3 separate regions of the Homo sapiens genome follow, and all the other regions are linked to region 1. The links are contacts of gene promoters, found by promoter capture Hi-C in human tissues and cell types (Jung and others, 2019). All regions are on one chromosome and are shown on one strand. The core of a region is centred on a gene start or on the middle of the fragment in contact, and the rest is flanking DNA. Distances in the headings are between cores, read along the strand shown.

Region 1 (3,139 bases), core at 229-2,728:
CTTAGCTTCTCCCACTTTGTACTAATTTTTCTTTTTAGTTGCCTAGAATGATGTAAACTCTGCAGTGTGAGGGTTAAGAATATGAGCTTCAAGGGGAGGTAGCTCTGGTTCCAATGGCCATTTTTTCATACTGCCCACATGTACTTAGTGAGATGGGCACTGTATGGAGCATTGGGCCTCGTAAGCCCTCATAACAACCCCATTAGATGGCTGCTGCCAACATATGAGGACATTCAGGCACGGAGAGGTAAAGTAACTTTCTAAAGGGAGCATATAATGAGGTCATCATAGCATAACAGAAGCAACACAGGGACCCAGGGACCCAGGGGAAGGCAGGAAAAATGAGAGGAAGAAAGCAGATGAGGAATGAGGAGGAATGAGAGGTAAATATTCTTGCCCAGAGCCTGTCTCCTCAGCCCCAGGGATGTGGGGTCCAACTGATTTAGCTACTTCCCTCAGTTTTGCCAGGAGGAGATGTAGGGCAGGGAAAAGGAGGTCAACAAGGATTGAAGGGAAGATTTATGAAGATGCAGAAAGGCCTTTCCAGGGAAAGAAATGTCTGAACAGGCTTGGCAGACAGGATGTGATGGGTGCTTTATTTCCCTGGGGGACCAGGGAGCTTGGGAGGAGGATGCCGCTTTCACTGGTCACTCTCAACCATTTAATTCAGAACCTGTGTTTGGATCCCAAGGGAGCTCAGGCTCCCAAAGTCATGAATATACATAAGCCTAATCCAGCATTAGGGACAATAAGATAATGAAGGTGGCACCCTTAATTCCTTTGGTTGCCAGTTTGTCTTAATTTTTTAATTAATGAACAATTTCAGATGTCAAAGCCTTGAGACACGGAGTAATGCAATCTTTTCTGAGAGTTCTTTATCTCTTCCTATGTGTGATTTCCACCCCACCCCGACACCCCACACCCCCAGTGTTTCAGCAGTTTCCTCTTCTCCATTCCTGAAGAACCTGCATTTCCTTTTCCCAGCTCTGGTTTTGGCTTCCTGTGTGCTAAGCCTTTGCAGTTGTCATCATGTCTTCAGGATGCATTTGATAGGTACAGGAAGTCGCACCAGACGGAAGATGGAACCAACAATCAATAAAAAAAGAACTATGTTTCTAAGAAAAATGCATCATGGCTTCCCACAGGAGTTGTGAACCATATGTCCTAATATCCCTGTAACAATGGGTCTAATTTTTAGCTCTTCTGCTCTGCCCTCCCGGCCATCTCAACAAGAAAGAAAATAGATCTTTTAACCTGCTGCTCCCCGGCTAATGATCTGTAGTAAAGATTGCCTTTCCTTTTAACTCATTCATCAGATACCACAAAATAAAATACGTCCCTCCTCTCCCGCTAGCTTTATTTCTCTCGGCTACTAGTTTAGTATATTTATGGTGTATGAGTCATCAAGCTGCCTCCTGATTGGATAAAAACCAAGCACCTCTGAGACCGTCAGTCAATTACAGCTATTCTCAGCTTCATTCACAGATTTATTAGCTTGCACACACACAGAGAAATTCATTCGGCAAAGTTCATTCATAAAAATTTCAACACGCTGCGTATCATCCTGCACATCTCAGCTTTCGGCTGCAAATGGGCTTCTGAAAAAAGCTCCGAGAGGAATCCAGGAGGGAGGGAAGCTCTGAGCGAGGGTAGGCAGGCTGGGAGGGGATCTGAGGAACACGGACCCATCACAAGTCAGTGAAACAATGCGGAGCAGCGCCCGTCAGTAGTACTCCTGGCTGGTGGCCCAGAACGGGATGCAAGACAAGATCTTCCAAGAGAGGGCAGCCTTTGGAATCAACGAACCCAGGCAAAAGGGCCTTTGGTTCATAGATACATTTTTTTTTCCTTTTTAAATGAACAATCACTGGAACAAATAAAGGGTTAATAGGCCAGTCATTTGCCCCGCCCTGTGAGAGCCGAAGGGAGCAGGTTCGAAAGTTCCTGTGTGCAGAACAGAAGGCTGGGGTGAGGGTGGGAGTCGGGTGCTAAATATTTCTACTAGGCTCCTGCAAGGCTAGTGATGCAGCGGGCCCCCCGACCGGCGCTCGCCCGGGTTCTGCGCCTAAGAGTTGGCCGTGAGCGACCCGCGCCGCCGGGAGCCTGGGTCTAGGCTCTCCCGACAAGGATTCCAAGGCGAGAACACTGGTGCCTCTGCCTGGGCCAGGGAGAGACTGAAATCAGAGCAGGGGAGGCGTTTCCCCCATGGGCTGTCACCCTTAAGGGGCCGGGAGCCGAGGTGGGCGAGCTCGAGAGCAGAGTTGGAGAGGTGGCTGCTGTGAGTTGCATCGGGCGTTGAGGTATCTGATGTCTGCACCGTTTATCTACCAGACGACGAGGCGATTTATGCAACAGTATCCTGTTTCAGCACTGCCAAGGCTATGCGAGAACGCGGCCAGGACAGCCTGGCAGGACTCGTGCTGTATGTAGGACTCTTCGGGCACCCCGGGATGCTGCACAGGGCCAAGTACAGCCGCTTTCGGAACGAGTCGATCACGTCCTTGGACGAAGGTAGCTCCGGAGGCTCGGTCGGGAACAAGGGCTCGCCGCAGCCTCCCCACCCCGCCCTGGCACCTCACCTGCCGACTGAAGATGCCACCTTGCCGTCGCAGGAGAGCCCCACCCCACTGTGCACCTTGATCCCCCGCATGGCAAGCATGAAGCTGGCCAACCCGGCCACTTTGCTGAGTCTGAAAAACTTTTGCCTGGGTACCAAAGAGGTGCCTCGGCTGAAGCTCCAGGAAAGCCGGGACCCAGGTTCCAGCGGCCCCTCTTCCCCAGAAACCAGTTTAAGTAGGTCCGGGACTGCACCTCCACCGCAGCAGGACCTGGTGGGACACAGGGCAACCGCCCTAACCCCTGATTCGTGCCCGCTTCCTGGCCCTGGGGAGCCAACACTTAGGAGCAGGCAGGACAGGCACTTTCTACAGCACCTGTTGGGGATGGGCATGAACTACTGTGTGAGGGTAAGTCCATTTTCCTCTCTGCCCTCTAAGAACTTCCGTGGAAGGGGGCATCTTCTCTGCTTTCTGCAAGGGGTCTAATGTTACCTGCCTGGGTTCTGTGTTTGGACAGGACATGATTCAACTGGACCAAGGCGGAGGGGAGCTGGGTTTATATATGTCCCTACAACTATCTG
Region 2 (3,139 bases), core at 426-2,925, 170 kb before region 1:
GGCAGTGAGCTGAGATTGCGCCACAGAACTCCAGCCTGGGCGATAGAGCAAGACTCCGTCTCAAAAAAAAAAAAAAAAAATGTTTACAATGGATAATTTTCTGAGGTGGAGTGTGGGGTGACAGAAGGGTCGTACTGGTAAGAAACCCAAGATTTATTGAATGATTCTGTGGAGGAAGATGTAATGATGGTTAACCACTGAAGAACCTACCATAGTCAATTAATATTCGACAAAATTATGGAAGATAAGACCAAACAAAAAACCTAGAAGAAAAGGCCCATTTTTGCAAAAGGAATTAGTGAGTAAGAGAAACTTTCCTCCAGGCATAGAATAAATGGAACCCAGGGTTTTTGTGGGTTTTATTCATTAAAAAAGTATAAGAAATTTACTAAATTTCTTCAAGTCTTTTATTTTAAGTTGTACAGCTGAGTTTTACCACAGCTGGAAAAATGTAGTTAGGGACATGAAGCAGGGCTTTTTTTTTTTTTTTTTTTTTTGCAGATATATGTAAATAATTTAGGTGACCAGAAGTTCTATTTATAGTACTTTTTCATTTAACAGAAAACACTATTAGACTGTACATTATGGGTCACCTACATATAAATTGTGTATACTTGGAGAAGATAGCTTATTTCATGATATTAAAGTTCCTGTGTAAAATGTCCTCATTTAACTTTTTTTAAAGAAACCTTAATTTTGGCTGTAAAAAAAAAAGCGTTTTTTTTTAGGGGGACTAAGAACAGTTTGGAATTAAAAACCTTAAGTTACCACATTAAATCAGTTTCTTTATTGTTTACTTTATTTTAATTTATTTGTTGAATTAGGTTGCTTTTCATTATTAAAGGAAACGTCATCTTTATTTCAGATAGTTTATTTCATTCACATTTGGTCACATTAACTAAGAACCAAAGTTGTTTATAATGTTAAATTGCTAAGCAGCAGTTTACACTTTTAAAACTCTAAGAAATATTGAGGAAAAGCTTTACCCTAGACATTGATATTTTGTATAAATTAAATTGGCTAAGTACATTAAAATTGGTTAAAGGACTGATTTGTCAGACCTTTATCTGACCTATATCAGAATATATAATGACATTTATAAATTTATTATATCCAACTACTCCAGCAAAGCCACTGTATTAGAACTCAAAACTTATTTTAATGGTAAATTTTGACCCACATGATGTGATGCATGGTGTCCCACAATTTTGTATAAGATGTTTTTTTTGAAACCCCACTTAAGAAATGGAAGAATGTCTTACGGTTAAAATATGTATGTACACAAATATAAAACAAATGTTTGTGCAAGTGTTTTCAATGCTTGAATATGTCCTCCTATAGTATATTACAGCAGTGTATTTGGGGTAGGTAAGAAAGTAATGCTTCCTAATTTTGTCTTCCTAGTCAGTTGCCAGGAGACTAGAGGAAAATAATTCCTGTCAAAGCACTTGAATCACGTGCCCCTAATATGAGGTTACATTGGGACCCAACAGATGGAAGCACTAGCAGAGGGCGTGCAGTATAGCTGATGATAATGTCTTACGTATAAAGCAGACAATGGTGCCATATCCACAAGGTTGGATTCTTCCTTCTCAGCACCTTTAGCAATTCCCATAGAGCTTTACAGAATTATTTCAAGAGGAGATACTAGATACCTCAGAGAATTATGAATATAAATCAGTCTTTGGCCTTCTGCAACAGGGGATTGAGAAATGTTCCTTTTGAAAATTTTCACAGTTGCTGGTAGCTTTCTAGAATATAAAAATTAAGAAGCTGCATTTTCTGAATAACCTACACAGAGGATATGCTTTCTCATTTGAAAGACGAGGCTACACCCCTTCATGTAGTGTACATGAAGCCTGGTTCCTTTCATTATGAACAATTAGGAATTAAATGCACAATTTCATTTGAAAACATCAAACATTAAATAGTTGTTAAATGTTTTATTGCCAACTTTTAAGAGAAGTAAGATATTGAGGTGATTTTAATTAACTTTGTATAAATATAGTATATAACCCCAAAAGAAGATTTATTTAATCTTTCTTTTAAAAAACCAAAAGCATGAAAAGGAAATTTATGTTTTTTTTGGCAGAAGGTTATGTGTGCTTGTTTAACTGTGATTTCCATGACAGAAAGTATAATATTATTTAGATTTTTGCATATGAAAGTTGAGAAGCAGGGTCTTTGGATTATCTGATTTAATACATAACTTCTTCATGTTTGACATAATTTACACTTTGTTTTTCTATTAGTGCCTATCAGAATAATGACATCACTGAATTTGAAAAGATTCTAAAAACAAATCACAGCAACATCATGGATGATCCTTTCATAAGAGAACACATTGAAGGTATGTTCTTTCTGCCAACTGGATTCTATTACTTTCTTTGCCACTGTCAAAGAAATGCCACTTAATGAAGCTGCATGGCATTAAGCTGTTTTCTTTCTGTCTATTGCAAAGTATAGATATGTTTCTAAATGCTGTCATTGGATGGGATATTCCTTAAAATTATGAAGCTCTTTTAAAGAAATTGACCAATTTCATATTACTATAGTCAAGTTTATATATAATGTCCATTTTGTTTAAGGTAACTGTCCCTTTTTAAAAAAATCTAATATAGATGCTGTTGCATGTTTATTATTGATGCTTAGGTTCAAAGTTAATTTTTAAGGTTTATTTTTGACAAATAACAAAAGTTATGAAAATATCCTGCTATAGATAATGCTAAGATATATGTACTATGAAAGATAAGGCAACACTGTGAAGGTTTCATACCAGTAAGTGAATGAGGTTTTTAGCAAGTTATATTGAATTACCAAAGACTACAATCATCTCTTTGCTCTTGGACTTCTTTTATAGCTCCGATTTTCCCACCTATTATGGAGCTATTTGAAGGTTTTTAAATGACCATTTGGAACTAAATTTCAGATGCATCAGAAGTAATGTTCTGTTCCCCATCTTTCTTTCTCTTTTAATCAACAGACATTTTAAAAGTTCTTACATGAACCTGGAATGATACTGCAGTTTATAGATATAGAAAAACGTAGAATCTTTGTACATGAATTTCAACCTGGTTTTAAAAAATTTTAAGAACTATTGTACAGACAAAACTGGAGGAAATTGTAAAAGCATTATATA
Region 3 (3,139 bases), core at 417-2,916, 140 kb after region 1:
CACGGTGAAACGCCATCTCTACTAAAATAAAAAAAATTAGCCAGGCATGGTGGCACGTGCCTGTAGTCCCAGTTACTCGGGCTGAAGCACTAGAATTGCGTGAACCCAGGAGGTGGAGGTTGCAGTGAGTCGAGATCGTGCCACTACACTCTAACCTGGGCCACAGAGTGACACTCTGTCTCAAAAAAAAAAAAAAAAGTACCTTTTCTTTTTTCAGCAAAGTATCTACTTTAGGGATATATCTGGCATTTTCCCCCTTATTATTTATATCTTTCAGGAGAACTACTATAATTTAACCTAAATATATTTGTACTTCTTTTTCAAGGTGAGGACCAAGGATCATGTATTTGATAATGTCGGCCACCTTATCAGATACCATATGGATAACAGTTTGCCAATCATCTCCTCTGGAAGCGAAGTAAGCCTTAAACAACCAGTGAGAAAAGATAATAATCCAGCACTTTTGCATTCCAACAAATGACAGTATTGAAGCACCATCACACTGATATTTCAAGAAACCCCATTTTGTATTAGGACACAAAGATAATTTAAACTTTGTTTGTAGATAAAATAGAGCACAAACTGTGAAGTGCATCTTTCCAAGACCATCATGGACCAGGTCCTCTATAAAATGAAGAACTAACAAAAATTAGTCTTCAGAAATGAAAATCAGAAAAGAGGAAGAGGGTTGGTCATTTTAAAAGAAATTATATGTATGCACGGATGTCACTTTTTAAGGCCATATTGCATTGATAACAAGCTAAAAGCACAACTAAAATTTCACATGCTAACGACAACTTGAATGAACTGCTGGGGCAGTGGTATGTGCCTTTCAACTTGATAATTTGGGGGACATTTTCATATTGGGAGATTAATTCTAAGTATCTTCATGTTCTATGACTATAGAACCATTTGCCAAAAAAAAAAGCTTTTCTTGCTACAAAAAATAAGCAATTTTCTTGAGCCTTATTGACTTTATTACATTTTCTGTTTAGCAGCATTTTTCACTGCAATGTTAAAATAAATATGACATTGAATTCGAACTGTGTGTATGTCAGTGGAATCAAATCAAAAGCCACTAACATGGCTGTCTGTTTCATTGGACTGTCCCATTTGCTGGTTAAAAGGATTGGGGCCCAAATCCTCTGGCCTAGCATTTCTCAGTGTTTGCTATTCAGACTGTCTAAATACAGCATGTGACAAGCTGAAGAAGCCAAATCTATCAGTCATTTCTGATTTCATTATATTCTCCCCCTCTTCCTGCTAAAAAGACAAAAAACAAAAAACAAAAAAAACAAAAAAAACCTCATGAGTGCATGGATTTAAAAGAGGGCAAACAAAACCAGTATTCTTCATATTTACTATTCAAATTGGTTTCATTCTTAGTAAAAGTACAGAATCTATTTGAAATTATAGTAAAATTTCTTCTTGATTGGCTGACACTGAATCATAGTTTCTCACCTACATATATCCTTAGCACCTCGTATAGATATGATCAGACAAAATGCAGAAGGAAAAAAAAACATATTGAATGAAGCACTTGGAAAGATTTTCCACATGTAGACCAACTGGTAAACTAACAGAGTGATTAAGCATGGTGTACAGAAAAGCATTACGCTGAGTCTTACCAGTGTGACCTTCAGCAAGTTGCTGAATCTGTTTGGGTTCCAGTTTCCTTGGCAATAAAATGAGCTAAATGGGCTAGGTGAATTTGGAGGACTACTTCAGTCCTAACTTATAGTATGAGTCTCTAAAAAGCAAGTTTTTCATTTGTTAGAGGTCGTTATTGATAACCAGTCTGTATAGTTAAGGTAAAAAATTAAGCTTTTCTTCTATAGTCTGTGTCCATACTCACAGAATGAATGGCACACCTGAGATCAACATTCACATAGTTTAGACTCCAAACCATTCAGTCTAAAATACTGAAACTTTGGAATATAGGGAATGATGATAAAAGTGGATTTGGTTTGAGTAGCAGAAAACTACTTATGTCCTTTTCTTGCCTTTCCAAGAAAAATGTTTTTTGTTTTTTTTTTTAATCTTGAGTTATCTGGATATTGCCTTGACTCCATTTCATTTTGGCTATGTAGATACAACTTAGTCTTTGTGATTGTGATATATTTGCTAAGTTTTAAATAAAACTTCTTTTGGATAGAAATCATTAGAAACCAAGCATACTGCACTCTAATATTTTACTGTAAAGGCTTATGATTTTTATTTCTACTGCCATTAATTTTTTAGATGGATTTGTTTCCTCTTACACAACTAGAATTAATGTATTTTTCACCAGTTTTCCATATACCTTAGGTCTTGATCGTTTGTCCTTAAAAAGGGGATCAGCATGAGTATAGACAGTAGAAATGTATGGGTAGTCTAACCACTTTTATCAGAGACAGAGCAGGGCTGTGGTCTCACTCTAGCTGAGCAGAGTATTAACTTGGTAGCAAGAGTTCCTGATACAAATAGATGCAATGACTGTAAATGGTGTCAGCAGTACACATGGATAATCAGTATTTGACTGTAATAGTATAGTAGTTAAATACAGCACTTAAAAATACCACAGACACAGTTAAAGCAAAAGGAAACAATAAAAGGAATGTCTGCATGCTATTTTAATCTCACATTCTTTATCTGTCTTAAAGTGGAAATCCATTTGCCTATAAATACCTGTAAACGACTTTAAAAAATAAATGATTATTGCTTTGTGACAATTGACAGAATATGTCTGATGTTTGGGATTTGGAAACTGTCATTTGTAAAATGTATCAGGGAAACACATTGGCTCAATCAAACTGGATAATTCAAGGTGAGTTTATTAAAGGGACTATTTACAAAGGTGTGGGCAGAGTTTAGGGAAATCAGGAGGGAGAATGCAGTGCCTTGGGGCCAATTAAGGGAGAAAGGGAAAGAACAGCTAACAGAATCTGGAGAGGGAGCTGTGTGCAAGGGCTGCCTTTTAGGAGCTGTGGCCTGTAGTGGAGGAATGCAATCAGCCCTGCTGACTCAACTAAGAGGCAGTGAGGGGCATTCATAACCCAACGTTTTTCTGCTCCCCCTATCTGTCTCCTGCTGGGATTCTCCAGTGGCCCAAGTAACTTGAAGACAGAGAGCAAGGGAGCTCCTTGATGCAGTTCTGGAG

What was found. Contacts are between HindIII fragments. The study calls those that stand out against the background at their distance.
Region 2: a fragment that was not itself captured here is called in contact with the fragment with the promoter of SHC4 in region 1 in 1 of the 25 tissues and cell types used here (adrenal gland).
Region 3: a fragment that was not itself captured here is called in contact with the fragment with the promoter of SHC4 in region 1 in 1 of the 25 tissues and cell types used here (H1 embryonic stem cells).

Annotation. Positions count from the first base shown.
Region 1 is chr15:48,962,258-48,965,396 of GRCh38, reverse strand. It overlaps SHC4 (SHC adaptor protein 4), which reads left to right and starts at 1,478. Exons shown (of 12, transcript NM_203349.4): 1 at 1,478-2,966. The coding sequence starts at 2,382. RefSeq lists enhancers at 2,000-2,501, 2,502-3,004. The HindIII fragment of the contact is 15,905 bases long and covers 1-3,139 here.
Region 2 is chr15:49,129,930-49,133,068 of GRCh38, reverse strand. COPS2 (COP9 signalosome subunit 2) reads left to right here. Exons shown (of 13, transcript NM_004236.4): 10 at 2,253-2,350. Among named protein-coding and RNA genes, the nearest start is that of COPS2, 24 kb to the left of the region's middle. The HindIII fragment of the contact is 6,490 bases long and covers 1-3,139 here.
Region 3 is chr15:48,823,313-48,826,451 of GRCh38, reverse strand. It overlaps SHC4 (SHC adaptor protein 4), which reads left to right. Exons shown (of 12, transcript NM_203349.4): 12 at 326-2,711. The coding sequence ends at 481. Among named protein-coding and RNA genes, the nearest start is that of CEP152, 14 kb to the right of the region's middle. The HindIII fragment of the contact is 4,959 bases long and covers 1-3,139 here.